Regions from separate parts of the Homo sapiens genome. Here all the other regions are linked to region 1. Evidence: promoter capture Hi-C in 16 types of primary human blood cells and fetal thymus (Javierre and others, 2016). All regions are on one chromosome and are shown on one strand. Each heading gives the region's core, a stretch centred on a gene start or on the middle of the fragment in contact. The rest is flanking DNA. Distances are from core to core; before and after follow the strand shown.

The links. The method cuts DNA at HindIII sites, captures the fragments that hold promoters and counts their contacts. A CHiCAGO score of 5 or more calls a contact.
Region 2: a fragment that was not itself captured here is called in contact with the fragment with the promoter of AGPAT5 in region 1 in 1 of 17 cell types (M0 macrophages); the score reaches 7.4 in M0 macrophages.
Region 3: a contact is called between a fragment that was not itself captured here and the fragment with the promoter of AGPAT5 in region 1, in 2 of 17 cell types (M0 macrophages and M2 macrophages). The highest score is 7.1, in M0 macrophages.
Region 4: a fragment that was not itself captured here is called in contact with the fragment with the promoter of AGPAT5 in region 1 in 1 of 17 cell types (monocytes); the score reaches 5.7 in monocytes.
Region 5: a contact is called between a fragment that was not itself captured here and the fragment with the promoter of AGPAT5 in region 1, in 1 of 17 cell types (total B cells). The highest score is 5.7, in total B cells.
Region 6: a fragment that was not itself captured here is called in contact with the fragment with the promoter of AGPAT5 in region 1 in 2 of 17 cell types (fetal thymus and monocytes); the score reaches 5.0 in fetal thymus.
Region 7: a contact is called between a fragment that was not itself captured here and the fragment with the promoter of AGPAT5 in region 1, in 2 of 17 cell types (fetal thymus and naive CD8 T cells). The highest score is 8.5, in fetal thymus.

Annotation. Positions count from the first base shown.
Region 1 is chr8:6,706,459-6,710,495 of GRCh38, reverse strand. It overlaps AGPAT5 (1-acylglycerol-3-phosphate O-acyltransferase 5), which reads right to left and starts at 1,854. Exons shown (of 8, transcript NM_018361.5): 1 at 1,609-1,854. The coding sequence starts at 1,827. MCPH1-AS1 (MCPH1 antisense RNA 1) reads left to right here and starts at 2,287. Exons shown (of 5, transcript NR_125386.1): 1 at 2,287-2,355. RefSeq lists silencers at 1,461-1,700, 1,761-2,100. The HindIII fragment of the contact is 5,238 bases long and covers 1-4,037 here.
Region 2 is chr8:6,248,225-6,252,261 of GRCh38, reverse strand. No RefSeq gene overlaps it. Among named protein-coding and RNA genes, the nearest start is that of MCPH1-DT, 160 kb to the left of the region's middle. The HindIII fragment of the contact is 1,578 bases long and covers 1,533-3,110 here.
Region 3 is chr8:6,267,280-6,271,316 of GRCh38, reverse strand. No RefSeq gene overlaps it. Among named protein-coding and RNA genes, the nearest start is that of MCPH1-DT, 140 kb to the left of the region's middle. The HindIII fragment of the contact is 4,880 bases long and covers 1-4,037 here.
Region 4 is chr8:6,283,922-6,287,958 of GRCh38, reverse strand. No RefSeq gene overlaps it. Among named protein-coding and RNA genes, the nearest start is that of MCPH1-DT, 120 kb to the left of the region's middle. The HindIII fragment of the contact is 1,854 bases long and covers 1,234-3,087 here.
Region 5 is chr8:6,332,114-6,336,150 of GRCh38, reverse strand. No RefSeq gene overlaps it. Among named protein-coding and RNA genes, the nearest start is that of MCPH1-DT, 72 kb to the left of the region's middle. RefSeq lists an enhancer at 4,020-4,037. The HindIII fragment of the contact is 896 bases long and covers 1,589-2,484 here.
Region 6 is chr8:6,349,740-6,353,776 of GRCh38, reverse strand. No RefSeq gene overlaps it. Among named protein-coding and RNA genes, the nearest start is that of MCPH1-DT, 55 kb to the left of the region's middle. The HindIII fragment of the contact is 253 bases long and covers 1,977-2,229 here.
Region 7 is chr8:6,379,704-6,383,740 of GRCh38, reverse strand. No RefSeq gene overlaps it. Among named protein-coding and RNA genes, the nearest start is that of MCPH1-DT, 25 kb to the left of the region's middle. The HindIII fragment of the contact is 4,168 bases long and covers 188-4,037 here.

The sequences.
Region 1 (4,037 bases), core at 605-3,104:
CCTAAAGAACTTCATCAAGGAACACACATTAAACAAAATTTTGAATTATACTTAAGGGTCCTCAGGCATCCTTTCATAAATGCATGAAAATTAGTGCTGGATGCCACTTCCTTTGATTTGAACAGACGGTGGGGGGAATGATTAGATTAAATGTTTTCAAAATCACTTGCTGGGAAATCAAGAAGTAAATCGGATCTCTGAACATCAGGTAAGGTATGCAATTTCAGAAACACTGCTAGGTTTTACAGCCATTTAAAAAAATAAGAACTTGCCAAACCAAAAAATCCTTCAATGGTGTATTCTGCATCATATTGTGTCCTCTTTGAACAAAAATAACATAACCCGCCACAGATAGAATTATTTTTTTAAGAGGTGAATGACTTTGTGTTCTGAGCTTATATCCCATCCCAGGCCAGTTGTCACATGATGTGGAAGTAAAAACTTAATCATGATAAAAATCATACATTTAGACAAACTTGGTGGAGTTACCATATAAAGGGAAAAAATTAGCCTGAATTATTGAAATTTTTAAATGAGGCCCATTTTAAACGTCAACTACCAGGAAACCATGACCTGGAACAGTATCTTTTTTTCTTTCCAAGGAGACACTTACAGACACTGGTTTAAATGGAGGCCCTGGCCTCTCCTAGTTCCTTCCCCCCAAACAACTTCCAACTGGGGCCATCAAGGGTCGATCAGCAGTGCAACTGCAAACTAAATATAGTACCTGACTGACCACAGGGTAAAAACAGCTGCTGTAGGTGGAAAAAAAAAAAGTTAAAAAGACAAAATGATACCGTCCCATTTCCCCATGCCACCCTAACCCTACCAAGAAAAGTAAAAGAGGACTAGGTGGACATTAGGAATAACCAAGAATAAAGCTGTTCTTTCAAACTGAGAAATAAAAGAAAAATTCACCTTTTTTTTTTTTTTATAACACTTCAAATACCTACTGTTAAAGAGGGCCTTCCACTTTTATGGTTTGTTTCTCAAGTTTAATCTACGAATCCAATCTCTACAGAGAAACAGTAACAGAAAGAAAGTAATCAGACAACAGATCACCCACACATTCAAGCCCAGTTAAAGTTGGCAAGAAATGTATCTAGTTAGGCTTCTACGGTTAACAAATGTATTCATTTCTTCGCCCAGCTTTCACTTGTCCAGGGGAAAGAACACAAGACCGAATTGTACTTCTGTTTCAAGAGGTCACTGTAAAAGCGCACTTCGGAGTGTAGACGTCTCCGATCTGTTCCAACATGACCACCTCTTTGGACCAAAGGCCAGAAACTGCTAAACGCGTGCCCTATTATTTAAAACGTGCATCTGCACCCACTTTGCTAAGCAGCATCAGACCCAGGCGAGGGGCGGGGAAAGGGGCGGCGGGTCCCACTCGTAGCCTCAGGACGACGCAGCCACAGCTTCCTAGAGAGCGATCTCGGCAGAACGGCAGGAAGCATGCGGAGAGGAAGGCGGGGAGGCGGCACGTGCTCTCCGTGCTGGGTCCGCCGGGCCGGCCGGGTGACCCTCGCCAGCTGTGGGGGAGCGGAGAGGTCCGCGCCCCCGGGAGCTCGGGTGGACGCCGAGACCCGGGAGCGGGAGGCGGCTCACCTGGACCCCGGTGTAATTCTCGAAGAAGAAGAGCACCATGCTCTGGTAGACGCAGTAGAGCCGGTCGTCCAGCGCTTGGTAGAAGCGGGCGGGCAGGAAGGCGGAGAGCAGCCGCCAGACCCCCCAGGCCAACACGTAGGTGGGCGCCGTGCCCAGGAGCACGACGCTGGGCAGCAGGTAGCGCATGGAGTACGTGTGGAGCACCAGGGACAGCAGCATCTTCTCAGCTCGGCGGCAGCGAGCTCCGCCTGCGCTCCCCGCCCGCCTCCCGGGCCTCAGTCGCGGCCAGCAGGCGGCCAATCACCGCCCGGGCCCGGGCCGCCGCGCCCGCCACCCGCTCCCAGCCTCCGCCCCCAGCCGCATGGGCCGCGCCGCCGCCCGGGGCCGGGTAGGCGAGTGCGGGGCTGCGTGCGCCGCTCCCGGCGGCAAAGCAAGGGAACCCGCGGCCCTCCCGGATCGATGGCTCAGGGATGCTCACACCCCATGACCCTCACCCATCGCCACATCCCCCTGCCGGGGCAGGGGGCTCCGCGGCAACAACGCGCCTTCTGATTGGTCGCCCGTTGCCATAGTTCCACCTCGGCGGCAATAACACGTCTCTTGATTGGTTGGTTTGGGCCGACAGTTGCAGTACAGCTACCTGCTGGGGCGCGGGCAACCCGGCTCCGGCCACTGCGCATGCTCCCCAGCTGGGCCGGCTGCGGACGCGGGAAGGGAGGTGGTGGCGACTGACGGAACTGGGTGAAGGTGGGTGCTGGCCGGAGGAGGGTCCGGGTGCCTCTTGTTCTGCTCCCTCGGGCCGGACGTGCGCGCGGTCAGGTTTAAGGGTCGCTGGAGCTGCCTGGAACGCGCACCTGCTGCTCACAAGCCCCTGGGCGCCGGGATGCACACAATTAGAGCAGTGAGAAAGTGGGTGTTAACGTTATCGGAGGTCTAATTCTTGCAGGCACCTGGGCCCAGGTTGTAGGCAGCTCGGCCCAGGTCGCGGGGCAGCTCGAGTGTCCCCATCTGCTCACTGCCAGTCCTTTGCAAGGGGACGCCGCCTCCTCAGCCTCCGCTCTGAGTGCGCAGCAGCCCCTCCTGCCCGTCTCTCGCTACCAGGGTGTTTCAGAATTAGGGTCCGTGTTTTTCCCCATCACAGTAATGATGATAATTACATGTTTATGCATAGCTGAAGAACAATCCCACAAGGATATTTCCATACTGTTTATTAGACCTTTTCAGAATTCACTCTTGCTTCATTTCCTCAGAGTCTGTTGGACTTGTTTCTGATTTTTTTTTAATAAGGAGCCTCGTTTTTTTCTGTAGTAATTAAAGTAGTTGCGTGCACATGTGTAATCCATAAAAAGCATACTTTTGTAGCCTTCACTAAAAGCTACGAAGGGTGGATAACTGTTTTATTGATGTTAAAGCAGATCCACAGGACTTTTGGATCTTTCTCCTCCCCTTTGGCTGTGGTAAAAATGGTTTAATATGTAACCCTTTTCAAGGATAGTTGTACTTTAAAAGAATGCCGAATGCTTTACCATATATATATATATATATATATATATATATATATATATATTCCCGCCCCCTCCCCACCACCACCATAATGGGAGCCTGTGCTACCTTTAGGCAGGACGGTATTTCAGTGGGAAGTTCTAATCAGGGCCAGGATGGTAGCTACTTTCTTTATACATGATTAACATCAAATAACAACATCATTGGTAGATGATGACCTTTGGGGACAAAGCCAGGTGAATGGAGATCTCTCAAGTAACAAGTATTTGAAGGCCAGCAGGAAGCATTACACAGTAAAAGGAGCTTCTCTCTTTCTGTGGCTGTCATTGTCCTGTACTGTAAGAAGCACTAGGTTTAGTACTGGTGGAAAAAAGTCACAGGTGTGGACAGTGTGCACAACTAATGCTCCTTATGCTTTCTTTAACTGAGACCAGACATCTCTACACTAGAACAGTGTGCGAAAAGATAAAGCAGGTTCTGTGTTCACGTTAGGATTGCTGTGTATAAAGTCAGTAAATATGTGTTTATGTGTAAATTTGTTGTGAATCACCCCAGATTACTGTTAGTCACGAAGTTGTAAACTTTTGTGCAATGTTTGCCATGAAAACACAGAACTTAACTTTCTCTTGTTCCCTCTTTATCTCCAAACCCAGCTCCTGACTATCAGTTATTGTCTGTCCTGCTCCCGCTCCTCTCTTCCTGCGAACAGTCACAGATCCACCCTCTCTTTCTGCCACTACCCGGCCCTGTTTTTCTGTTTTTTTTTTTTTCCCTTTTTCCGTGCAAACCTCTTAGTTGATAATCAGCCCACACCCTCTGCCTCCTTACCTTGTACTTTTGTTGAGCCCTTGCAGTCTGATGACCTTTTCCTCCCCTTTACTGGAATGGTGCTTCTTTCAGAGCACAGCTGATTTCCTCCTTTGCAT
Region 2 (4,037 bases), core at 1,072-3,571, 460 kb after region 1:
CGGCTGCTATTACTTTTAATGACAAAAATCATAATAACTTTTGCACCAACCTAATAGTGACCACAGAATTATTTTGACACTTACCCATTAACAGGAATTCCCTGATATGCTGACCACCCAGGTGCTGAACTGAGTGGCCTCTGCACTGCATCCAAAACACAATTTTCGTATCACTGTGTTTTGATCTGGTCTGTGTGTGATAATGCGGTTCTACCTTCCATGTCCTTGCAACCGAATATGCTTTTCTCGCTCAATAATAATCACCACATTGGCTATTGCTTATTGAATGCTTTATATGCCAGATTCTGGGCTCAGCTCTGTGTTCATCTTATTAATCCTAACAGCAACCCTAGAAGGTGGATTTTGTTACAATTCCCCCATTATAAATAAAAACCTGAGGACGGTATGGACACTAGCTGATGAGGTTTTGTGAATTGATTTCTCTAGATATCTGTATGGCTGTGTTGTTACAACTCTTTGTTTTTCTAGCAAGAGCGTGGCATATTGGCTTTTTGATCATGGAATCTGCCCTTTTATTTGTTCAGTCAATGATGAAAGTCCATTTTCACGCACTAGAAGTCAAGATGCTCCTTGTTCAAGGTGCAAAAACCCTTCCCGTGTCTCAGCATTGAGACTTCCTCGGGCAGTTGGCAGCTGGGACTAGCTGGGGGAGGTGACAATCTTATCACAGCCTCAAGTGATGAGTTACATTTCAGATGAGACCAGGTATTCTTTTGTAAAGGGATGAACTAAAGCAAGTTTCCTGTCAGGACCAGCTTTGAGAGTGTGTGACCTGTGGACTTTGGTTTAATTCTTTGTGGTCGCCCTATTGAAGTTCTTCGTTTCTTCCTTGACTTTGCGTTCTGTTGATGACCTCTGATGGAGCAATGGAGTATGTGTTGTGGTTGGTGCTGGCCGGGTGCACTGTCCTCCCTCCCCCAGGGCAGATTCTCCCCTGCCCACCCTACCACCTCTTCTAGTGCCTTTGCGCCAGGCCATGGGAGGTCATGGTCAGGTGCGTCCACCTCTGCAAGGAGTTGTGAGCTGCACTCCATGGGCACCTAGGCACCTGTATGAGTCTGCACTCACCACATGTAGATCCCCATGCCCCCAGGAGAGTGACATTAAATAGGAAATAAGCACAGGACTAGTAGAGACTGTTGAGCAAAGGACAAATGTTCCTGCTTTATGAACAAGAGCCCCTGCCTTTCTATTTTGCACTGGGTCCTCTTCTGACTTCCAAGCAGATGGAGTAGACTGACATTTCAATTGCTCCAAGATGCGAATGTGCCCATGATAGTCCACTCAGGCTGATGTAACAAAATACCGCGGACTGGGTATATTCTAAACAACAGATTTGTTTCTCACATTTCTGGAGACTGGGAAGTCCAATATCAAGGTGCCAGCAGATGGGGTGTCCAATGAGGGCTGCCTTGCTGCAATCTTACCTGGCAGAAGAGCTTGAAGGGCCGGTTGGCCCTCAACCTGACTACAGCACGAGAGTCAGGGCAGTGGCAGCTGGCTCAGAAGCTTGCGTTCATGCATCTGGGAGTCCAGAGCTCCAAGTGGTACAGACAGAATGGTAGAGACGGAGAGAATGATAGAGAGAGAGTTCTCACTCTGTTCTGCTTCCTAAATCACCTCCCTCCAGGAGATTCTGCACTGTAGGAGGGAGGTGGTTTAGGCAGAAGAACAGAGTGAGGACTCATAATCACAGCACCTCTTGTGTTCTAGGGACTCTTGGAAATGCTGATTAGGATTCATGCTTAACTTCAGGACTTGGCCTTTTTTTCAGAAGAAGGAACCCGGGGCATGATATGGTTAAATAAGTTGTCCAAGGAACAGAGTGACAGACCTGAGATTTGAGCCCTGGGAGCCTAACTAGTGCCCAGACCAGTTTGGTCGGGGAGACCCTAACCCAGCGGCGCTAGAGGAATTAAAGACACACACACTGAAATATAGAGGTGTGAAGTGGGAAATCAGGGGTCTCACAACCTTCAGAGCTGAGAGCCCTGAACAGATTTACCTATTTATTTATTTATTTATTTATTTATTTATTTATTTATTTTTGAGATGGAATCTTGCTCTGTCGCCCAGGATGGAGTACAGTGGCATGATCTCAGCTCACCACAAGCTCTGCCTCCCTGGTTCATGCCATTCTCCTGCCTCAGCCTCCCAAGTAGCTGGGACTACAGGCACCTGCCACCATGCCCGGCTAATTTTTTGTATTTTTAGTAGAGATGGGGTTTCACCGTGTTAGCCAGGATGGTCTTGATCTCCTGACCTCATGATCTGTTCGCTTCGGCCTCCCAAAGTGCTGGGATTACAGGCATGAGCCACTGCGCCTGGCAGAGACTTCTTAGTTGTCCAAAACATCCTTTATTTCAGCCCTTGGTGTGATGAATGATTTTTGAGGAATCAGGGAAGAAGGAGAAATTTCTTAAACTCTCTTTGCAAACATTTTCCAGCAGGATCATTCCCTAAAGAGTTGTAGAAAGATGGTGAAGAGCCAATCAATGTTCCCCTAGAAAGTTCTTTGCCAATTTAGTCATTTATCTATGCTTCTATTTCCAAACATTAGGAGGCAGTCAGATACTTGTTTAAAGTAATTCTATGGTTTGTCAGACTCGTTTAAGGATTTTCAGATGATAAAAGCACACATTCCTGCAAGCAATGTGGCCGGGGAGAATATACATGCAGATGGATACATCTGTCTTTGCACTGTTTACCTGCAGGAATGTGTGGATTGTGCAACCCTCGTGCCAAACTAAATGATCAAATAGGGGCTTGTGGCACCTGTAAATTCCTTTCTGACTTTTGCTCCCCACCTTAAACTGTTTAGGACAATAGTGCTCAAACCATAAATGTTCCATGCTTTGTTTTCTCAACATTGATCAATTATGACTAATCTAATAAATTAAATGTATTTTTCTCTTATTTACACTTCAGCTCTATTGGATTTGTTGAATGGGAAAACCATGAGAAATCTATGTAGCATTCTTTTCACCCAGATATATTAAAAAGCTGCCATTGATATCAACAGGTATAAAACTATATTAGGGGTGGTGGGTGGAGGTGTTGTCTGCCCTCCCAAAATTTGAATCCAAGCTTAGCCAGAAAAAGCTGTTGTAGAATCCTGCTTCATCATTATCAGGTGCTACCATTTGTTGAAAAGTGCCATGTTTCAGATCCTATGTTAAAGATTCTAGAGGCGTTATCTCATCTTTTTATTTTACAAATCCTCCTATGAGGAAGTAATTTTATCACAGTTTTACAGATGTGGAACTGAGGCTTAAAGTTTCAGTAAGTTACCCAGCAAGAGGTTTCCTGTTTTAGGTCTACTCAACAAAAGAGAAAATCTGAGGGTTTTAACAAGTGCTCTGCTGTTTTTGTTCATGCCACACTCTCTAATATGCCAGGAGAAAGAAATTTTTATTGAGTGCCCTTTATATACCAGGCAGTGTGAGGGTCACTGCCCATATGACCTCATTTTAATTTTCACAACCATCTTTGGAGATAGTATGGAGAAACTGAGGCTCAGTACTATTTGCCTAATACAAAAAAAGCTAGTGAGATGTGATGCTTTGAGCTACAGCAAGGCAGGGGCAGGGGTGCAGTAGAAGAAATGAGAGAGGACAGAGAGATCAATCATTGGCAATTCTTCAGAGGTGGAGGGGGTGGTGGGCTCTTGATGGAGGTATGGGAGCTTCTGTTCATTTCTGTCCTTTTATCATCTCTAGTCTCACCTCCCAGTGAGATAAAAGATCCAATTTTTAAAGAAATTCAAAGTCATCTTCCCCTGGTGAGCTGCAGAAGCCTTGTTTATTCTCCTCTCCAATTCTTCTCCCACTTGAACCTACACTACTTTGAGGGCAAGGCTGATCCAGGGAGCAGTCCTTTCTTATAGATACTTAATAATATAAGAAGTAGGAGGAGTGAGTCGTTGATGGTGACCTGCCATCATGAAAGATGCAGCCCATCACAGGAAAGAACCCAGACTTACATGGAGTGGAGCATGGGCACAGAGGCCAGAAGAT
Region 3 (4,037 bases), core at 753-3,252, 440 kb after region 1:
TCATTCTGGATTGGAGAGATTTTTTTTTTGAACTAATTCCTTAAACAGTTGATCTCAAGGGTTGTTTGTTTTGCTGTTTTTCTGTGTTGTATCACAGATGAAGGAGATGGTTCTTTCACTTAATAAAACACATAAATAAATGTGTAGGTGAAGTTCTTTTCTTTTTTTTTCCTTAGGGAAGTGACAGTTGACAGAATTTCCTGAAAGTTGCTTTGCTACGTTCCTCATCTTCCTCTTAAATTCCTTCTTCTGGCATTCTTCCCCATCTCAGAAACGGAAACCCCATCTTTCCAGGCGTGTAGGCCACAGATGGTAGAGTTGCAACTTTACTTTTGCTTACAGACCTCATTTCTAATACAACTGCCAATGCTGTCAGCATTGCTTCATAGTATTCTCAGAATCTGACTGTCTGTCGCCCCCTAGACCCATGGTTCACCCCGTGCCCCACCTGTGTGGAGCCGCCACAGTCTCTTTCTTGATGCTCATGAAGCCCTCTAACTACTCTCCTTGCTTCTATCCTTGTCCGCCCCTCCTCCCTGGTCATCTCGCCCTCCGCTCACCATGTGCTGGTGCCCTCCCATCTCACTCCTTATGTGGGCTGCAGGGCCTCATCGGTCTGGTGTCCTCTGAAGGCTCCAACCTCTCCTCTGCTTTTCTCCCCATGGCTCATGTTCCCCCGCCACACTGATGTCCTTGCTATTTCTTTGAGAACTCAGACCGTTTTCTGCCTCACGGCCTTTGCACAGGCTGTTCTTGTTGCGTAGTCTGTTCTCTTCCTTGACATCCACATGGCCCCATCGCTCATCTCCTTCCTGTTGTTGGTCAAACGTGACTCTTTCAGGGAGGCCTTCCATGACCGTTCTCTTTAAAGTTGCACCCACCTCTTTCCGGTGCTCTTTTCTCCTTTATTTTTCTCTGCAGTACTTTGCACCATATGACATGCCTTAGGCTTTCTTTTTTTTCTTTTTCTTTTTTTGAGACAGAGTCTCGCTCTATTGCCAGGCTGGAGTGCAGTGGCGCGATCTCGGCTCACTGCAACCTCCACCTCCCAGGTTCAAGCGATTCTCCTGCCTCAGCCTCCAGTAGCTGGGACTACAGGCACGCGCCACCGTGCCCAGCTAACTTTTGTATTTTTAGTAGAGACGGGGTTTCACCATGTTGGCCAGGATGGTCTCGATCTCCTGACCTCGTGATCCGCCCACCTCGGCCTCCCAAAGTGCTGGGATTAGAGGCCTGAGCCGCCGCGCCCGGCAGCCTAATGCTTTCCTATCTGGCTCTTGTATGTGTTGCTCATCTAGACTGCAAACTCCAAAAAGGTAGGCGACTTTGTTTTGTCTGCTTCTGTAGCCCAGTACCTGGCCCATGGCAGGCACCTGATCGAGTTTGTTAAATGAATGCCTAATAAAGTAACTAGAATTTGGGAGGAGCCCTAGTGCAGCTCCAGAGGAAGATTTTTTTAGTCTCATCCTGTTGCCCAGGGTGGAGTGCAGTGGCAGGATCTCAGCTCACTGCAATCTCTGCCTCCCAGGTTCAAGCGATTCTCCCACCTTAGCCTCCTGAGTAACTGGGATTATAGGTGTGCTCCATCATGCCCAGCTGATTTTGTATTTTTAGTAGAAATGGGGTTTTGCCGTGTTGGCCAGGCTAGTATTGAACTCCTGACCTCAAGTGATCCACCGACCTCGGCCTCCCAAAGTGCTGGGATTACAGATATGAGCCGCTGTGCCGGGCCCAGAGGGAAATTTTTTTGAGGCCCTGGAAGAAAAATGGAGAGAAAATAGAGGGAAGAAGAAATACACCAATATATGATACTTGTATGCAAGACTTTGCACCCTTTTTATTTTTGGGGGGTGTTCTTGGCAAAGCCTCTAGCCTCATTGCCTACTTCATTTTATCTTTTTATTTGTTTATTTTTTAGAGATGGAGGTCTGGAGTCTCACTGATTTCCAGGCTGGTCTTGAACTCCCGGCCTCAAGTGATCCTCCCACTTTGGCCTCCCATTATTGTCTACTTTAAATGGTGGAAAAGTAAAAATCGTCTGATTAATATTTCAAAACTATGTCCTAATTGTGTATGTGTATGTTTACCTCTATTTTATGTATACTTTTATACCTATCTAGATTAAAATTGAATTGCTGTGTAAGTACCAGGTGATAATCTGGTGTTTAAATCGGAGCACTGGGATGAGTTAATTAAGATATCTGAATAATTGTTTCCTCTATCAGTATTGTTTTTGAATGAAATAGAATATATGCTAATGATATATGCTTGGTGGGCCTACTTTACCCACAGGGGTGGGGTCACCAAGTGACTAATTAACTCTCTGAGCTGATTAAAGATTTTTTTTTTTTTTTTTTTTTTTTAAGAAGGAGTCTTGCTCTGTCACCCAGGCTGGAGTGCGGTGGCGCCATCTTGGCTCACTGCAAGCTCTGCCTCCTGGGTTCACGCCATTCTCCTGCCTCAGCCTCCCCAGTAGCTGGGACTACAGGCGCCCGCCTCCACGCCTGGCTGATTTTGTTTTTGTATTTTTAGTAGAGATGGGGTTTCACCGAGTTAGCCAGGATGGTGTCCATCTCCTGACCTCATGATCTGCCCGCTTTGGCCTTCCAAAGTGCTGGGATTACAGGCCTGAGCCACTGCGCCTGGCCTGATTAAAGAATTTTAAAGAAAACCTCCTGATTGTCACCAGGTGTCTTTTTTAGAAAGCTATAAATGTCTCTTATACTTCAAAATGAAAACAAAATCCCTCAGCATTTTTAACCTCAAATGAGTGAAAACCAAACCACAATGACACAAAAAGACGATGTGAGGATCACAGAAGGAAAAGATAAATGACAGCTTTGCAAAATAGTCGGCCAGCAGAGCCCCATACTTATGGTCTATTGCATGCTGTCTGTTGTCTTTGAGGACTCTCATGTGATTTAAAAAAGATTTGAGAGGATTTGGAAGTTTTTAAAGGAAAGAAAAAATAATCTGCCAGATGGTCAATGAAGAATTCTTTCTTTAAAACAAAGTTTTATGATTACACTTGTAGTTTACTTATGCTTCCTTATTTAAGTTTTTGATGTAGTAGAACATAGACAATTACCAGTAAGTAGTCAGTCAAAATTCTGGATTGTTCTTTCATATTCCTAGTTTAGTGAGAGTTTTTAATCATCAGTGGATATCAACATTTATCAGTGCTTTTCACACATTTATTAATATAATCACTTTTTTTTTGCAATTTAGTCTATGAATATAGTAAATTATATTGCTTGATTTTAAAATATCAAACCAATTTTCATTCGTAGGATAAATATCACTTGGTCATGGTGGTCATGGTATATTTTTCTTTTCATATATTGCTAGCTTCATTTTGTTAATATTGTGTTAAGGATTTTTTTTTTTTTTTTTTGAGACGGAGTCTCGCTCTGTCGCCCAGGCTAAAGTGGAGTGGCGTGATCTCGGCTCACTGCAAGCTCTGCCTCCCGGGTTCCCGCCATTCTCCTGCCTCAGCCTCCTGAGTAGCTGGGACTACAGGCATCCGCCACCACGCCCGGCTAAATTTTTTGTATTTTTAGTAGAGTGGAGGTTTCACCATGTTAGCCAGGATGGTCTCAATCTCCTGACCTCATGATCCACCTACCTCGGCCTCCCAAAGTGGTGGGATTACAGGCGTGAGCCCCTACGCCTGGCCTTGTTAAGGATTTTTATGGTTATTGTTCATGGTCTATAGTTTTTTTTCTTCTTGTATCTGTTTCATTTTAGTATCAGAATAATTTTGGTCTCATATAAGGGACTTGGAAGTGGTGTTTTCTCTTCTATTTTCTGAACAAACATGGAGAATTGTTATTATTTCCTTATCAAATTTTTTAGAGAAATTCACCAGTGAAGTCAACTGGGCCTGGAATTTTCTTTGTAAGATATTAAGCTGTGAATTCAATATCCTTAATTGAGGTAGGATTTTTCAGGTTATCTATGTTTGAGCCTTGGTAGTTTGTGTCTTTCAAGGAATTTTCCCATTTCATATGTTATGAAACTTACTGTCATGATATTCC
Region 4 (4,037 bases), core at 911-3,410, 420 kb after region 1:
ACCATCTTGGCCCGGATGGTCTCGATCTCCTGACCTCATGATCCGCCCGCCTCGGCCTCCCAAAGCGCTGGGATTACTGGTGTGAGCCACCGCACCCGGCCCATGGGCGTCTCTTTTAATCTGAAAGCTCCTTTGATGAGGAGAGAGATCTGATCGCACCAATCTCTTGCTTTGAGAGTTTTAAGGGATCATCTCCTTAGAGATTAAGGGCACATGTGCCTGTGTGGCATTCCAGACCTCTCCTAATGTCTACTGACACCTTCTCTTAGCCTCACAGCTCACCTTCCCAAACCTCACCCCCAGGCTGAGCTGTGTTAGGCACCGGGCCACATTTAGTGCATGTGGCCTTCTTTACCCCTCCCAGTCATTGCTAAGTGGGTCTTTCTGTTTGCAATGCATTCTCCACTCTCTCCTACATAATGCTCTCCTTCACTCTTTGGCACCCAAAACCTCCTTTCTGACGGTTTTTCTTTTTTTTGACCACTGATCTCCCAGAATGCTTCCCGGTGTTTCCCTATGCTCCGGTGGAATTTTGTTTATCACTATTCTATTTCTCATTACGGTGTAGTCACTTGTTGTGTTTATGTGTTCAGTTCTTCGGGAGGACTATGAGGGTGAGAAACATGTCTTCACTTGGCAATGTCATAGGGCAGAGAATTCAACACTTGTCGATTCTACCTTCATAATTTGTGAGCGTTACAATCTTGTACAAAACCTGGAATAGTTTCAGTTTCCTTATTCAACTTGTGTGGTCTCAAATTAGAGTTTAACATAACTACCTCATTTGACCCACAAGAAGAGCTTGAAGATATTAATGGGATGAATGAATGAGAACACGGTGATGAAGATTTGTGGGGAGGGATTTGCATCATGTACCTTTTGAGAGGCTGTGGAGATAGGGCTAGTGACTCATAGGACCAAGTGGAATTGTGAGTTCCCACGCTTCCCTCTGCACTGCTTCCAGACCTCCAGGAACCAGAGATGTCGCCTGCGATGCTGGTTGCAACTCTTTAGGTGCAGGTGCAGAAAACCCAACTCAGACTTGCTAAAGGGAAGAAAACAAGAAGTGCTGGAACTCAGAGTTCCTTGCAGTAGTAACAGTCAAGCCCCATTGCTCAAACAATTCCCGAGAACCTTCTTTGTCCTTCCTTCTATGTCAGCTCTCTGTCTCTGGAGATGTGCTTCCTTCTCAGGTTCCATGTAGAGCCCCTGGCAGCTCATGGCTTTAAAGCTTGCAGGTTCAGGAAAGGGAGCATCTCTTTTCCGGAATCTCCAGGAATCCCAGGAATGAGTCTTATTGGCCTAATTATGGTCAACTGGCTGTCCCTGAATGGCCACTGTGTCTGGGGGAAAGTACGCATATTGGTCAAGCTGGGAATATGGGACCATCCCTGGACACTGAGGGGTGAGTGGGGCCATACTCCTTAAGCCACAGAAAGGAAGACTCGGGTAGGAGAATGTGACAGTTAATCTTATGTGTTAACTCAACTGGGCTAATGGATGCCCAGATAACTGGCAAACCATTGCTTCTGAGTGTGTCTGTTAGGGTATTTCCATGAGAGAGTAGCATTCGAATCAGTAGATGGAGTGAAGAAGGCCCACCCTCATCAGTGTGGGCCTCATCCAATCTGTTGAGGGTTTAAAAGTAGAAGGGAGAATTTACTCTCTCTATCTGAAATGGGACATCCATCTTCTCCTGCTCTTGGATGTTGGAGCTCCTGATTTCTGGGCCTTCGGACTCTGGGACTCACAGCCTTGGCTCCTCCAGGCCTCAGGCCTTTGGACTTGGACTGAATTACACCACTGGCTCTCCCGGGTCTCCTCCAGCTTGCAGCTGGCAGATCACAGGGCTTCAAAGCCTCCAGAATCATGTGAGCCAGTTCTCATAATAAATTGCCTCCTCTATATCCATATGGGCTCTTTTTCTCTGGAGAACTCTAGTGGGGGAGGCATAATATAAAAGGAATAATCACAAAAGGCAGTAAGTCAGGGGCACAAAGGAGATGTCAGCTTGCAGACTAGACGCAAGCATGTGAAGGGTGGCTATAGACATAGTTGCAAAGCTGGGTATGGTGGCTCACGCCTGTAATCCCAGCACTTTGGGAGGCCATCACGGGTGGATCACTTGAGGTCAGGAGTTCATGACCAGCCTGGCCAACATGGTGAAACCCCATCTCTACTAAAAATACAAAAGTTAGCTGGGTGTGGTGATGGGCACCTGTAATCCCAGCTATTCAGGAGGCTGAGGCAGGAGAATCGCTTCAACCCAGGAGGCGGAGGTTGCCGTGAGCCAAGATCGTGCCATTGCACTCCAGGCTGGGTGACAAGAGCAAGACTCCATCTCAAAAATAAAAATAAAATAAAAAAAGAAACAGTGGCAAATGATGTGGAAATAGGTAGAAAGAGAAAATATGATGTTCTGCAACCATTACCAGGATAAATTTCAACCGCCCCAAAACAAAAGACAAAAACCAAAAAAGCAGCTATTGTAACACTTAAGCATTTTAGTTAGAAATACACTTTGCATGAACAGTCAGAATCAGCAAGAATGTTAGCCTTAAAGGGGCACTTTTGGAGTGGGAGGGATGTAGTCCCAAAGGAGAAAGGAAGGAAGATCATTCTGATTAAACGCCCTGCTGCTGCTGTCAGGAATGCGTTATTACTAAAACCTTGAGCATCTCCGATAAGTGAGCTCCACGACCTGCCTTGTGTATCAATGGTAACCTCTTTGTTTGAAATCATAACACATGTTGCCCTGGATGGTTATAATAATGGAGTTTAAACTGGTGGATACAGATGCTATAATTTTCACTAGGTTGTTATCCTTGTGTGGAAATTTATAGAATCCATTAAAGACACATTTCAGGGTCTACGCAGGAAGGTGGAGAAGTCTGCAGAGGCTCAGATTTATCTTGGCTCTCACACCAGTTTCTCCCCACTTCAATCCAGGTTTTGCACTGCTGAGAGAGCCGTCTTTCTCAAACCCTAATCTGATCACGTTTCTTTCCTGCTTAAAATCTCCTGATGGCTCTCAATTGCCATTAGACTTAGGCAAAGTCCAGAATCCTGAGTGAGACTGTCAAAGCTTTCTTCTTTTTTTTTTTTTTTTGGCCACATTTTCTCTGTGCCCTCCACTGTAGCCACTGCTATAGACACAAAGCCACTTTCTGTTTCCCACAATGCCCAGCTCCTGTGGGCCTCTGGGCTTTGCTCTGGCTCTTCCTCCAGCCTGGAAGGTCTTTCCTCATCTTTTCTCTCTATGGCTAACCTTAGTGCACTCGGAGACCCTCACTCCATTAAGCCTCCTAGGACAGCCACGGCAGAATTCATTCGTTCCCCACTCCTGCTGCGAGGATCACCAGACTCACCCTGAAGGAGTTGGTCACATCCCTGGCAAATGCGAGCCCTTTACAGTATCGTTTTTTGGTCTTTTGCCTGCACCATAACTAGCACCTACTAAGCACTCAATGCACATTGTGGAATCAATAAACTTCAACAAGATTAACAATGCAAAATACTTTATAGGCCGGTTGCGGTGGCACACACCTGTAATCCCAGCACTTTGGGAGGCCGAGGCAGATGGATCACCTGAGGTCAGGGGTTCAAGACCAACCTGACCAATATGGTGAAACCCCACCTCTACTAAAAATACAAAAATTAGCTGGGCATGGTGGTGTGTGCCTGTAGTCCCACCTACTTGGGTGGCTGAGAGGGGAGAATCGCTTGGACCTGGGAGGCAGAAGTTGCAGAGAGCCGAGATCGTGCTACTGTACTCCAGATTGGATAAGAGAGACAGACTCCTTCTCAGAAAACAAACAAAAAATAACAATAACAAAAACCCCAAATACTTTACAAATTGTCTGGATTTCAAATGGTTGTTTCAAAACTGTTTGGAACATGAAACTAGTTTCTATAGAAACATGCATGTGTGGGGTTGTTCTAGAGCCTGAGGTTCACCCATCAAAGCCAGATTAATTTAAGGAAGGACAGAGCTACTGAGTGTCCACCCGTGTAAAGCGCCTGGGTCACAGTGTGGT
Region 5 (4,037 bases), core at 787-3,286, 370 kb after region 1:
GAGTGACCCAAATGTAAACTATGGGATCTGACTGATAATGACGTTTCAATGTAGTTTCATCGACTGTAACAAACATAGCACTCTGTGTAGGGATTTTGATGGGGGAGGCTGTGAGCATGTGGGGTCAAGTATATAGGAATTCTGTACTTTCCATTCAATTTTGCTGTGGATCTAAAATTGCTCTAAAAAATGAAATATATTAAAAATATAGTATTGGCCAGATGTAGTGGCTCACGCCTGTAATTCCAGTACTTTGGGAGGCTGAGGCAGGCCGATCATGAGATCAGGAGTTTGAGTCCAGCCTGACCAACATGGTGAAACCCTGTCTCTACTAAAAATACAAAATTTAGCTGGGTGTGGTGGCGCACACCTGTGATCCCAGCTACTCAGGAGGTTGAGGCAGGAAAATTGCTTGAATCTGGGAGGCAGAGGTTGCAGTGAGCTGAGATCACGCCACTGCACTCCAGCCTGGGTGACAGAGCAAGAGTCTGTTTAAAAAAAAAAAAAAAGAAAAAGAAAAAGAAAAAATATATATATAGTGTTAACTGTGAACTCTTTGCTTTGTTTCTTTTCTTAATTTTTGGGTAATTAGTAAAGTTCGTATTTTTATTTTAGGGTTACTTTTATATAATCATATAATTATCTCAGAACTCTATTTCTTTAAAGAATATCTATTAGTTTCTAAGAAGAATCATAAAATTAGCTTGTTTTTTTCCCCATTTCCATTCCTCAACCACCTATTTTACATTTATTAATATTATTATTCATCATATTGTCTTAATACTATAATGGATGTTTAGAATTTACTTACTTTTTTAGCTCTAAGCTGTATTTTAGAACTGGCTATTTTGGATTAAGCATTCAATGAATTTATCCTAATTTCCATGCTTTCTTCTCACTTTCCTGCCACATTTCTACTAAACGAATCTTTTCTGCACTGTCAGGGAATATAACATGCATGTTACAGTCTACTACTTTAAACTTTAGAGTTGTTTATGTTTTAGTTCTATATAGTCAGCCATTTTTTTTTTCTGTTATTTCCCTAAGTTGGTTGGCTGAGATTCATCCTTTATTAATCTCCTCAGGAAGACTCATGGGAACAATGTTCCTTGAGTTCTTGTATGTTTATTTACTGTTAGTTATTTTTATACTTGAAAGATGAATTCTGGCGGTCACAGAGACAAACATGACTCATGTGTGTTATCCCTGCTGTTGGTTTCACTGAACCACACAGGACACCCCGCCCCTACCATTTCCACGCCCACTGTTGCAAATCGAGGGTAGGTTGCTGCAAATAAGGGATATAGTTGTTGCCTTTTGTTTTTCCCTCACCCCCAGGGAGCATGTTTTTGCTGGCGTTTTACAAGATTAACTTCCACTGTGTTTTGTTGTCTTCAATTCCTCTTGAGTGACTTTTGCCCCATTTCAGTGGCTTTTGGAAGCTTCTGTAGATAATTTGTAGTCTGTGGGTTATATCTGTCTCCTGGTTTCGCTAAAAAAATGGGGTTTATAAAAGTGGCTTTGGTTCTCCTTGCTGCTTCTTTATGATTTCCAGGAGGAGAAGGGGAGTATGCTGACTCCTAAAGCTTTGTTTGCAATGACATTAAGTGGTAACTATATAACTTTTTTTTTGTTGAACTTTTGGATATTTGCTTCTGATTTTATTGCTTAATGGTCAACGAACATGGTCAGGATGACATTGACTCAATTACATTGGTCGAAAATTCATGAACAACTTAAGAATGTGATCAATTTTTGTAATTGTTCCCTGTATAATGTACTTGAAAGGAAAATTCATTTATAATTATTGGGTGCAGGGTTCTATATATGCTCATTAGATTAGGCTTGTTTATTGTTTTGTTTATACTTTTTGAATCTTTTTTTTTCTGCTGGTTATATCACTTGGTAAGAGACATATATTAAACTCTTCAGTATGACTGTAGATTTGACCATTTTTCCTTGGAATGTTTTCAAAAACAATTCCATGTTTTGAGGCTATATTGTTAAGGCCACACGAGTTCACATAAGTTGTGATCATCTTTGTGGTGAATTGATCCCTTCCTCCTTATACAGCTCGCTTTAATCCTTCTGTGTTTGGAATTGGTTCCTTCTGGTGGGTTCTTGGTCTCACTGACTTCAAGAATGAAGCCACAGACCCTCACAGAGAGTGTTACAGTTGTTAAAGATGGTGTGTCCAGAGTTTGTACCTTCAGATGTTCAGATGTGTCCAGAGTTTCTTCTTTTTGGTGGGTTCATGATCTCAGTGACTTCATGAGTGAAGCCACAAACCTTCGCAATGAGTGTTACAGCTCTTAAAGGTGGTGCGTCCGGAGTTGTTTGTTCCTCCCGGTGGGTTCGTGGTCTCACTGATGTCAGGAATGGAGCTGCAGACTTTCCTGGTGAGTGTTACAGCTCATAAAGGTAGTGCGGACCCAAAAAGTGAGCAGCAGCAAGATTTATCGCGAACAGTGAAAGAACAAAGCTTCCACAAAGTCGAAGAGGACTGACGGGGTTGCTGCTGCTGCCTCAGGTGGCCAGCTTTTATTTCCTTATTTGGCCTCGCCCACATCCTGCTGATTGGTCCATTTTACAGAGTGCTGATTGGTCCATTTTTACAGAGTGCATATTGGTGCGTTTACAAACCTAAGCTAGACACAGAGTGCTGATTCGTGCAATTTTACAGAGTACTGATTGGTGCTTTTACAAACCTTTAGCTAGACAGAAAAGTTCTCCAAGTCCCCACTGGACCCAGGAAGTCCAGCTGGCTTCACCTCTCAGTAGGCTATTAGTAGTTATGTTTTGGGGGAGTCAAAAGTTATAAGTGCATTTTTGACTGCCCAAGGGATTGGTACCCCTAACCCTCCATGTTGTTCAAGGGTCAACTGGTCTTGGTGGCTCATGCATGTAATCCTGTAATCCCAGCACTTAGGGATGCAAAGGCAGAAGGATCTCTTGAGCCTAGGAGTTTGAGACCAGCCTGAGCAACATATTGAGACCCCTTTCTTTACGGGCGCACACACACACACACACACACACACACACACACACACGACTTAAGAATATTTAACTCTGATTAGGCTGGTCGCAGTGGCTTGTGCCTGTAATCCCAGAACTTTGGAAGGCCAAGGTGGGCGGATCACGAGGTCAAGAAATCCAGACCATCCTGGCCAACATGATGAAACCCCGTCTCTACTAAAAATACAAAAATTACCTGGGCATGGTGGCACGCACCTGTAATCCCAGCTAGTCGGGAGTCTGAGGCAGGAGAATCGCTTGAACCCAGGAGGCGGACCTTGCAGTGAGCCGAGATGGTGCCACTGCACTCCAGCCTGGGCGACAGAGTGAGACTCAGTCTCAAAAAAAAAAAAAAAAAAAAAAAGAATATGTATCTCTGATTAATAACTTCCTTCCTTACGTAGTATTTTCTTCAATATTTAGTTCCAACGTGTTTTTAATTTCCCCCAATTTATTATTATTACTTTTTGAGATGGAGTCTCACTCTGTCGCCAGGCTGGAGTGCCGCGGTGCGACCTCGGCTCACTGCGTGGGCAACAAGAGTAAAACTCCGTCTCAAAAAAAAAAAAAAAAAGTTTGTTAAGCAAGGATCTGTGAGTTGCAGATAGTCTCTGATGTGTCTTTATTTTCCCTTCACTCTTTGATGATAGTAACTGGGTGTCAACTTTTAGGCAGTTGCTTATTGTCTCTTAGCCTTTTATTGATTGGTTATTTTCTGATGTTTGTTAATCTTTGTTCTTTGCAGATGTTCTACATTTTCCTTTCCAGTTGTTTTAAATATATTCTGTTTGCATTTCCTGTACTAAAATTTCACAGTGAAGTTACTCAATGAATACTTATTTTTACCTCTTGGGATGCATATTAGCTATCTGTTGCTGTGTAACAAATTACCCCAAAATTTAGTGGCTTAAAACAACAAACATTTATTAGTTAGCTGTTTTTGTGGGTCAGGAATCCAGTCATGGCAAGCAGAGCTGTCACACCCTCCTCAGGGAGTTGGAGCGCTTCACCATCCTGGCACA
Region 6 (4,037 bases), core at 854-3,353, 360 kb after region 1:
CATTTTTTTGTAGAGACGGGATCTTGCCATGTTGCCCAGTCTGGCTTCAAACTCCTGAGCTCAAGTGATTCTCCCGCCTCAGCCTACCCAAGTGCTGGGATTACAGGAAAGAGCCACTGTGCCTGACCTAATTTTTCTTAAATAATAAGCAACACTTTCCAGTGACTACATTGATCAATTAGGGTGGGTAATTCCTTCTCCAGATGACTGGGCTTATTTATGACAAACTCTTCATTTTAATTTTATTGGGAAAATAGCATCTAACCTCAAGTTCAAATTTGAGAGAACCTTACTGTGGACCACAAAACCTGCCCACCGATATGCATCTTTGAAATAAATAACTAATGATAATGTGTTCAATAATGACCTGCCTTTAATTAATGCATTAAAATAGTAATAAGCAGAAAATCTTTATTTCGAATGTAATGTATCTTCTTATAAGCAGAAAAGCCCTTATTTTTTCAGCATGTTCATATTACTTTTATAAAGATGTTGGATTTCATGTGAGGGCAGCCAGTTCTTATCCTTGTGTATTTATCTCCATGGCTCATTCCTTATCCAGCTGCTACTGAAAAGTCCTGGAGTTCAGATGGATGATTTTGTAAGGTATAAGTAGCCACCCTTAGGGAAAACAAGGCAACTGATAACTGTAGTGAATATGGTAGCTGAAAGACCACAATCTATTTAGCCAACTTGTGTCCGACAAGGGCAAGTAGACAAGCTTTTCAGTGTTTAGAATAACAGGGGTCAAGGTTACTTACTCAAATCGTCTCCTGGAAAGAACACAGACTTTGGACTTAGAGCTGCCCTCAGATCTTGGTGTTGACACTTGCTGCCTTTAATAAACTACTTATTCTCTTAGAGCCTCAATTTCCTTGTGAAAATCATAAAACAGGCTAAGATTTTTTTATGTTTACTATGCATAAGGAGCTGTACCTTGTAATTATCTTTTTTTTTTTTTTCTGAAACGGAGTCTTCCTCTGTCACCAGGCTGGAGTGCAGTAGCGCGATCTTGGCTCCCTGCAACCTCCGCCTCCTGGGTTCAAGAGATTCTCCTGCCTCAGCCTCCCGAGTAGCTGGCACTACAGATGCACGCCACCACACCCAGCTAATTTTTGTATTTTCAGTAGAGACGGGGTTTCACCATGTTGGCCAGGATGGTCTCAATCTCTTGACCTCGTGATCTGCCTGCCTCAGCCTCCCAAAGTGCTGGGATAACAGGTGTCAGCCACCGTGCCCTGCCCCAATTCCACTAGTTTAAGTAAATTTCTGACAAAGACTATATTTATTCCTGGATGCGTCTTTACAGCAAGCAGAACAGATGCTTGTGCAAGCTCCGCCTCCTGGGTTCATGCCATTTTCCTGCTTCAGCCTCCCGAGTAGCTGGGACTACAGGCTCCCGCCACCATGCCCGGCTAATTTTTTTTTGTATTTTTAGTAGAGGTGGGGTTCACCGTGTTGGCCAGGATGGTCTCGATCTCCTGACCTCGTGATCTGCCCACCTTGGCCTCCCAAAGTGCTGGGATTACAGGCGTGAGCCACCGTGCCCGGCCTGTACTTTGTAATTTTCATGTTATGTCACAGTCAGTTCCCACAAAGTCTATATAAGCTGATAAGTGTATCCCATTTTTCGGATGAGGAAACAAAGACCCAGAGGAACTAAATGACTGTCCCAAGTTCTTGCTATTAATAAATTACAGAATCAGCAATGGAACTCAGGTCTTCCGGCTCTGAAAACCGTACTCTGAAGACTGCATTACACTACTTCATTCCCCAAACTGATAAAAATAAGATCAACTTTGAGGGGATTTAAAATAATATGGTGATATATGTTAAATTTACAAAGCAGTGCCTGGCCTAAAAGGGTATGTTCAATAAAAGTTATTATTATTGATTACTTCAGGAAAATCATGAATTGCACATAATATTGAACAAAATGATGATTGCTGTTTATTAAGCACAATACGTGCCAAGCTTTCTGTTAAGTGAATATATGCACTATGACATTTACTGCTCATAAAAACTCTATTATGCACATTTTTAAAATTATCTTCCTTTTTAAAATAAACAAAAATTGTGGCTCAGAGAGATCAAGTGCCTTGTACAAAGTCATGTTACACAGCAGTGGGAATCAGAACCAGGCCTGTGGATTCCAAAGCCCAGCTTTTCTGTTTGTTAGTTTTTATATTTAACCACTTTGCTGTGTGGCCTTCCTAAAGAGGAAAAGCTTCTGACCCCCAAAATGAACCTGAATTTTGGAACAGGTACGTGTAAATTTGTGTCAGAGGGCCCATTTTAGGTAAACATACTTGATGATGCAGATGAAATATAAAAACACTCTCAGAGATGAGACAGCTGAGCAGGAAAGGAAATACTTTAAACCAGGAAATGGAGAATTAATTCATCTGGAGGAAAAATAACTCCAAATATATATTTGATGAAACACAAAAGCTTGCAAGCAGTGTAGAGAATCTTGTTAGAAAGATTGATTTTGGCTTCTTCCCTTCTGTTCATTGCATCTGAATAATCACTACAATCTCATCTATAAATGGTAAAATTCCTAAATCAGGTGTAACCGAAATCTCCATTTTGTAAACTCTAAATTAATTCCATAAGACATTTTAGTGCCATGCAAAGTTATTGACGTCGTATCTAATTCTATTTGGTCTTTCCATCAACCATAGCGTTTTTCTTGCTTCTAGAGATAAATGCCATTATAAAATATTTAGAATTCTATAGTGTCTCATTGGGAGTTTCACTTGAGGGCGGTTGCCTCCCAGGGAACTGTGTGGTGCTCTGATGAACCCCATCTTTCTATCTGTAGTCACTGCACAGCTCCCCAAGCTCCCCCTGGGGTGGTCCCCTCAGCCGGAAATGTCCCCACCTCCTCCGGCCTCTGCTTATCAGCCTGTGCTCGTCATTCAGCATGAAACCTCCAGGTCACGTCTGCAGAGAAGCCATCCCAGAACTACCCCCAGTGGAAAGTTCCTCTGTTACCTGCTCTGTGGCAGAGCCCACAACATAATTAATAACATGTCATGTGACAAAGCTTCATGTCATTTTCCCTGCCTTAAGGGCAAAGGCTGTATCTGCCTCACTTTCTGCTGTATCCCCAGAGCCTGGCCAGCTTTATTTAGGTTAAAATATAAGAAATCACTGGTATTTCACTGTCCTTAGTCTACAAAAGCGGCAATGTCATATGAGTCAACCAAATACTTAACATTTAAAGGATGCTTTTTGCATATTTTATGACTGTAGGAATATTTGCTGCAACCTATTTTAGATTTCAGCCCATCTGCCTCCAGCCCTATCTCCTGTTTCTTAAAGAGGAAGATAGGGGGTCTTGGGGTGGTGGTTAGACTATATAGAGGACAAATAGTCTTCCTCCTAAAGTTGCCTCCAAAGTTATTTTCCAGTTTCTGGAATTGAACAACTAAGGGCAGTAGGTAATTTTGGCAAGTCCCCCAGCAATCAGTCAAATTGACCTGATGCTGAAGTCAGGGCTGGAGCTTCATTAAAGCAGAGAAAGATTAAGTGACTGTGGGTAAGCTCCTGAATTCTCTGCACCAACTGGAGTAGTAAATAACCGATCACATGTCTTTGTTTCCTCCAATATTTTGGAAAGAAAAAGAAATTGCTAATTATTGATTTCCCCCCTGAAATTTCACTGATCAATAGAAACTTGAGTGATAGCCAGAGTTCACTCTTTAACTGTGGCCAGTCTCAACAAGCATCATTCATTAAGATGACTGCCACAGTCATGCTTCAAACCAGGAAAAAATAACCTCAAATGAGAAATTACTGAAGGTCACAATGAGGTTACAGACACATAAGAAATGGAGACGTAATCGTGATTGCAAAAGGACCTAGGACTGTGGACAATTCTGGGTATTGCAAAGCTCAGGTTGCCTGATGATTTGGGGGGAAAAACAACAATATGGGAAGAAACTTAATCTCCACAGTGTCCTGATGTTCCAGAAGCGAACTTGCCGAAGTCAAGCAAATATAACCAGACAATGTTACTGATAAAAAGATAT
Region 7 (4,037 bases), core at 1,022-3,521, 330 kb after region 1:
CAGTTTCTTCCTAGCATCAATGATCTTTACAATTTGGCATGTTTTTGCAGTGTGGCTGGTACCGGTTATTCCTTTCCATGTTTAGTGCTTCCTTCAGGAGCTCTTTTAGGGCAGGCCTGGTGGTGACAAAATCTCTCAGCATTTGCTTGTCTGTAAAGGATTTTATTTCTCCTTCACTTATGAAGCTTAGTTTGGCTGGATATGAAATTCTGGGTTGAAAATTCTTTTCTTTAAGAATGTTGAATATTGGCCCCCACTCTCTTCTGGCTTGTAGAGTTTCTGACAAGAGATCCGCTGTTAGTCTGATAGGCTTCCCTTTGTGGGTAACCCGACCTTTCTCTCTGGCTACCCTTAACATTTTTTCCTTTATTTCAGCTTCAGTGAATCTGACAATTATGTGTCTTGGAATTGCTCTTCTCGTGGAGTATCTTTGTGGCATTCTCCGTATTTCCTGAATTTGAATGTTGGCCTGCCTTGCTAGATTGGGGAAGTTCTCCTGGATAATATCCTTCAGAGTGTTTTCCAACTTGGTTCCATTCTCCCCATCACTTTCGGGTACACCAATCAGACGTAGATTTGGTCTTTTCATGTAGTCCCATATTTCTTGGAGGCTTTGTTTGTTTCTTTTTACTCTTTTTTCTCTAACTTCTCTTCTCGCTTCATTTCATTCATTTGATCTTCAATCACTGATACCCTTTCTTCCACTTGATCGAATCGGCTACTGAGGCTTGTGCATGCATCACGTAGTTCTTGTGCCATGGTTTTCAGCTTCATGAGGTCATTTAAGGTCTTCTGTACAGTATTTATTCTAGTTAGACATTCGTCTAATCTTTTTTCAAGGTTTATAGCTTCTTTGCGATGTGTTCGAATATCCTCCTTTAGCTCAGAGAAGATTGTTATTACCGATCGTCTGAAGCCGCCTTCTCTCAACTCATTAAAGTCATTCTCCATCCAGCTTTGTTCCATTGCTGGCAAGGAGCTGCGTTCCTTTGGGGGAGAAGAGGTGCTCTGATTTTTAGAATTTTCAGCTTTTATGCTCTGGTTTCTCCCCATCTTTGTGGTTTTATCTACCTTTGGTCTTTGATGATGGTGACGTGCAGATGGGGCTTTGGTGTGGATGTCCTTTCTGTTTGTTGGTTTTCCTTCTAACAGTCAGGACCCTCAGCTGCAGGTCTGTTGGAATTTGTTGGGGTCTGAATGTGGGTGTGAACATCTCTTCAAAATCCAGCTTTCTTTTCTGTTCTTTTCTTTTCTTTTTTTTTTTTTTTGAGGTGGAATCTCACTCTGTCACCAGGCTGGAGTACAGTGCACTCACTGCAACCTCTGCCTGCCAGGTTCAAGTGTTCTCCTGCCTCAGCCTCCCAAGTAGCTGGGACTACAAGCACATACCACCATACCCAGCTAATTTTTGTATTTTAATAGAGATGTAGTTTCACCATGTTGGCCAGGATGGTCTCGATCTCTTGACCTCGTGATCCACCTGCCTCTGCCTCCTAAAGTGGTGGGGTTACAGGTGTGAGCCACCACACCCAGCCCAAAATCCTGCTTTCAATCATTTTGAATATATCCCCAGAAATGGTATATGGTAATTTGTCATTTAATAGTTTAAAAATATTTCTTAAGAGGAGATGTTCTCCACATGTCTCAATAGCCGATAATGAAAGGATCCTCTGGATAAAACAGAACCCTGGATGTTACTATTACATGTGAAAACAAATACCGTTATTGTATTTTGATAGTCTTCTTGGCCTCTTTCCTCTTGGTCTCTTTAATCCTTAACAATTCACTAGTAAAAAGGAGATACAACAAGTCAACCAGGTAAGAATAACATAAATAATGACATCTCAGAGAGCAGCATTGAATCTCACAGCTCTGAAGTACTGAAAATGGCCAAACAAAAAATGGGTAGGAAATGGAAAGATTTAAAAGAAAAACAGTGGAGAGAGAATAAAAACACTGCCTTGAGATTGTGGAGGAAGGTGGTATTTATGATCCCATTGAAAAATTTTAGGTGATTTTTAAAATTTAAAATCTGAATCAAAAAGTACTATCAAAGTGCTTTTGAACAGTGCCCTAGGTAGAGCTCTTCCCTGAAACCATTGCGGGATTGCCTGAGTGATGAAAGGCCATCTTCATTTTCTCTTCTGGGGCAGAAGCACTGAACAGTTCAGCTGTGTTTTTAAATTTGTGGGTTTTTTTCTTTTAATTTCAATTTTATTTGGTGGTGGGTTTCATCTATATTTTCTAGAAGAGAAATTGCCTAGATAACACTCAGGCTAATATAAACTCCCTTTAAATTCTTTTTTTTTTTTTTTTTTTTTTTTTTGAGACGGAGTCTCGCTCTTTTGCCTAGGCTGGAGTGCAGTGGCACAATTTTGGCTCACTGCAACCTCCGCCTCCTGGGTTCAAGTGATTCTCCTGCCCCAGCCTCCCGAGTAGCTGGGACTACAGGTGCCTGCCACCATGCCCAGCTAATTTTTGTATTTTTTGTTAGTAGAGATGGGGCTTTACTGCGTTGGCCAGGCTGGTCTCAAACTCCTGACCTCGTGATCCACCCATCTCAGCCTCCCAAAGTGCTGGGAATATAGGTGTGAGCCACCGTGCCCAGCCAACCCCCTTTAAATTCTAATCAAAGGATCAGGGCAGCAAAAATTTTATTGGTTTGAATAAACTGTAATCAAAAATTGTTTACTGGTTACAAATTTTTTTTTTCTTGAGATGGAGTTTCACTCTTGTTGCCCAGGCTAGAGTGCAATGGCACAATCTCAGCTCACTGCAACCTCCACCTCCCAGGTTCAAGCAATTCTCCTGCCTCAGCCTCCTGAATACCTGGAATTACAGGCATGCACCACCATGGTCAGCTAATTTTGTATTTTTAGTAGAGACGGAGTTTCTCCATGTTGGTCAGGCTGGTCTCGAACTCCCAAGACTTCAGGTGATCCGCCTACCTTGGCCTCCCAAAGTGCTGAGATTACAGGTGTGAGCCACAGCACGTGACCTCTGGTTATAAAATTAATGAGGAAATTATCAGAATGGAGACTATGAAAGTTCAATCTAATCAGGTCCTGATATTAGACACATTGGATTACAGACCACCCTTATGACCTCATTTAACCTTAATTACCTCCTTAAAAGTCCCATTTCCAAGCAGTCACATTGGGGTTAGGTCTTCAACATACAAGATGCGGGAGGAGACACAAATCAGTCCCTAACCCCTGCCTATTAGTATTTTCATTTAGTTCATGACCTTGGAGTATATATTTATATTTTTGTACCACAAGACTAGCATGTGAAATATTCAGTGACTACCATCCTTCAATATACTTTAACGCCAAAACTATCTGGGGAGACAGTAATCCCAGCACTTTGGGAGCCTGAGGTGGGCAGATCATCTGAAGTCAGGGGTTCGAGGCCAGCTTGGCCAACATGGTGAAACCCTGTCTCTACTAAAAGTACAAAAATTAGCCGGGTGTGGTGGTGCAAACCTGTAATCCCAGCTACTCGGGAGGCTGAGGCAGGAGAATCGCTTGAATCTGGGAGGTGGAAGTTGCAGTGAGCCAAGATTGTGCCACTGAACTCCAGCCTGGGTGACAAGGAAGACTCTGTCTCAAAGTAAGCCTGACCAAGAATGATGGTGATTGTCCCCACTCCCAACCCCAATCTATTCTTACTGCTGTAGCCAGAGTGGACTTATACAAACACAAATGAGATCACATCACTCCTCTGTTTAACGTCCCTCAATGACTATGCTATCCTCAAGGAATATGCAGATCCTTACTGCAGCCCGTGAGGCACTGCATGACTTTTTCCTCATGGATTCTCCAACCTCCCGTCTTGGCTCTTCCTCATGTCATTATCTACTCAATGTTCACCTCTCTTGCTCACTGCAGGGTACCCAAGCCTCGTAAGTGCTTGTGAATAACAGAGGTTCACTAAATTTTGTTGCATTATTGAATGATGAGAAAAGAAAAGGCAAAGCCACTTAGAACAGAGCTCTGAAGGGCTCCAAACTTTATGAGTGAGGTGGAGGAGGTATA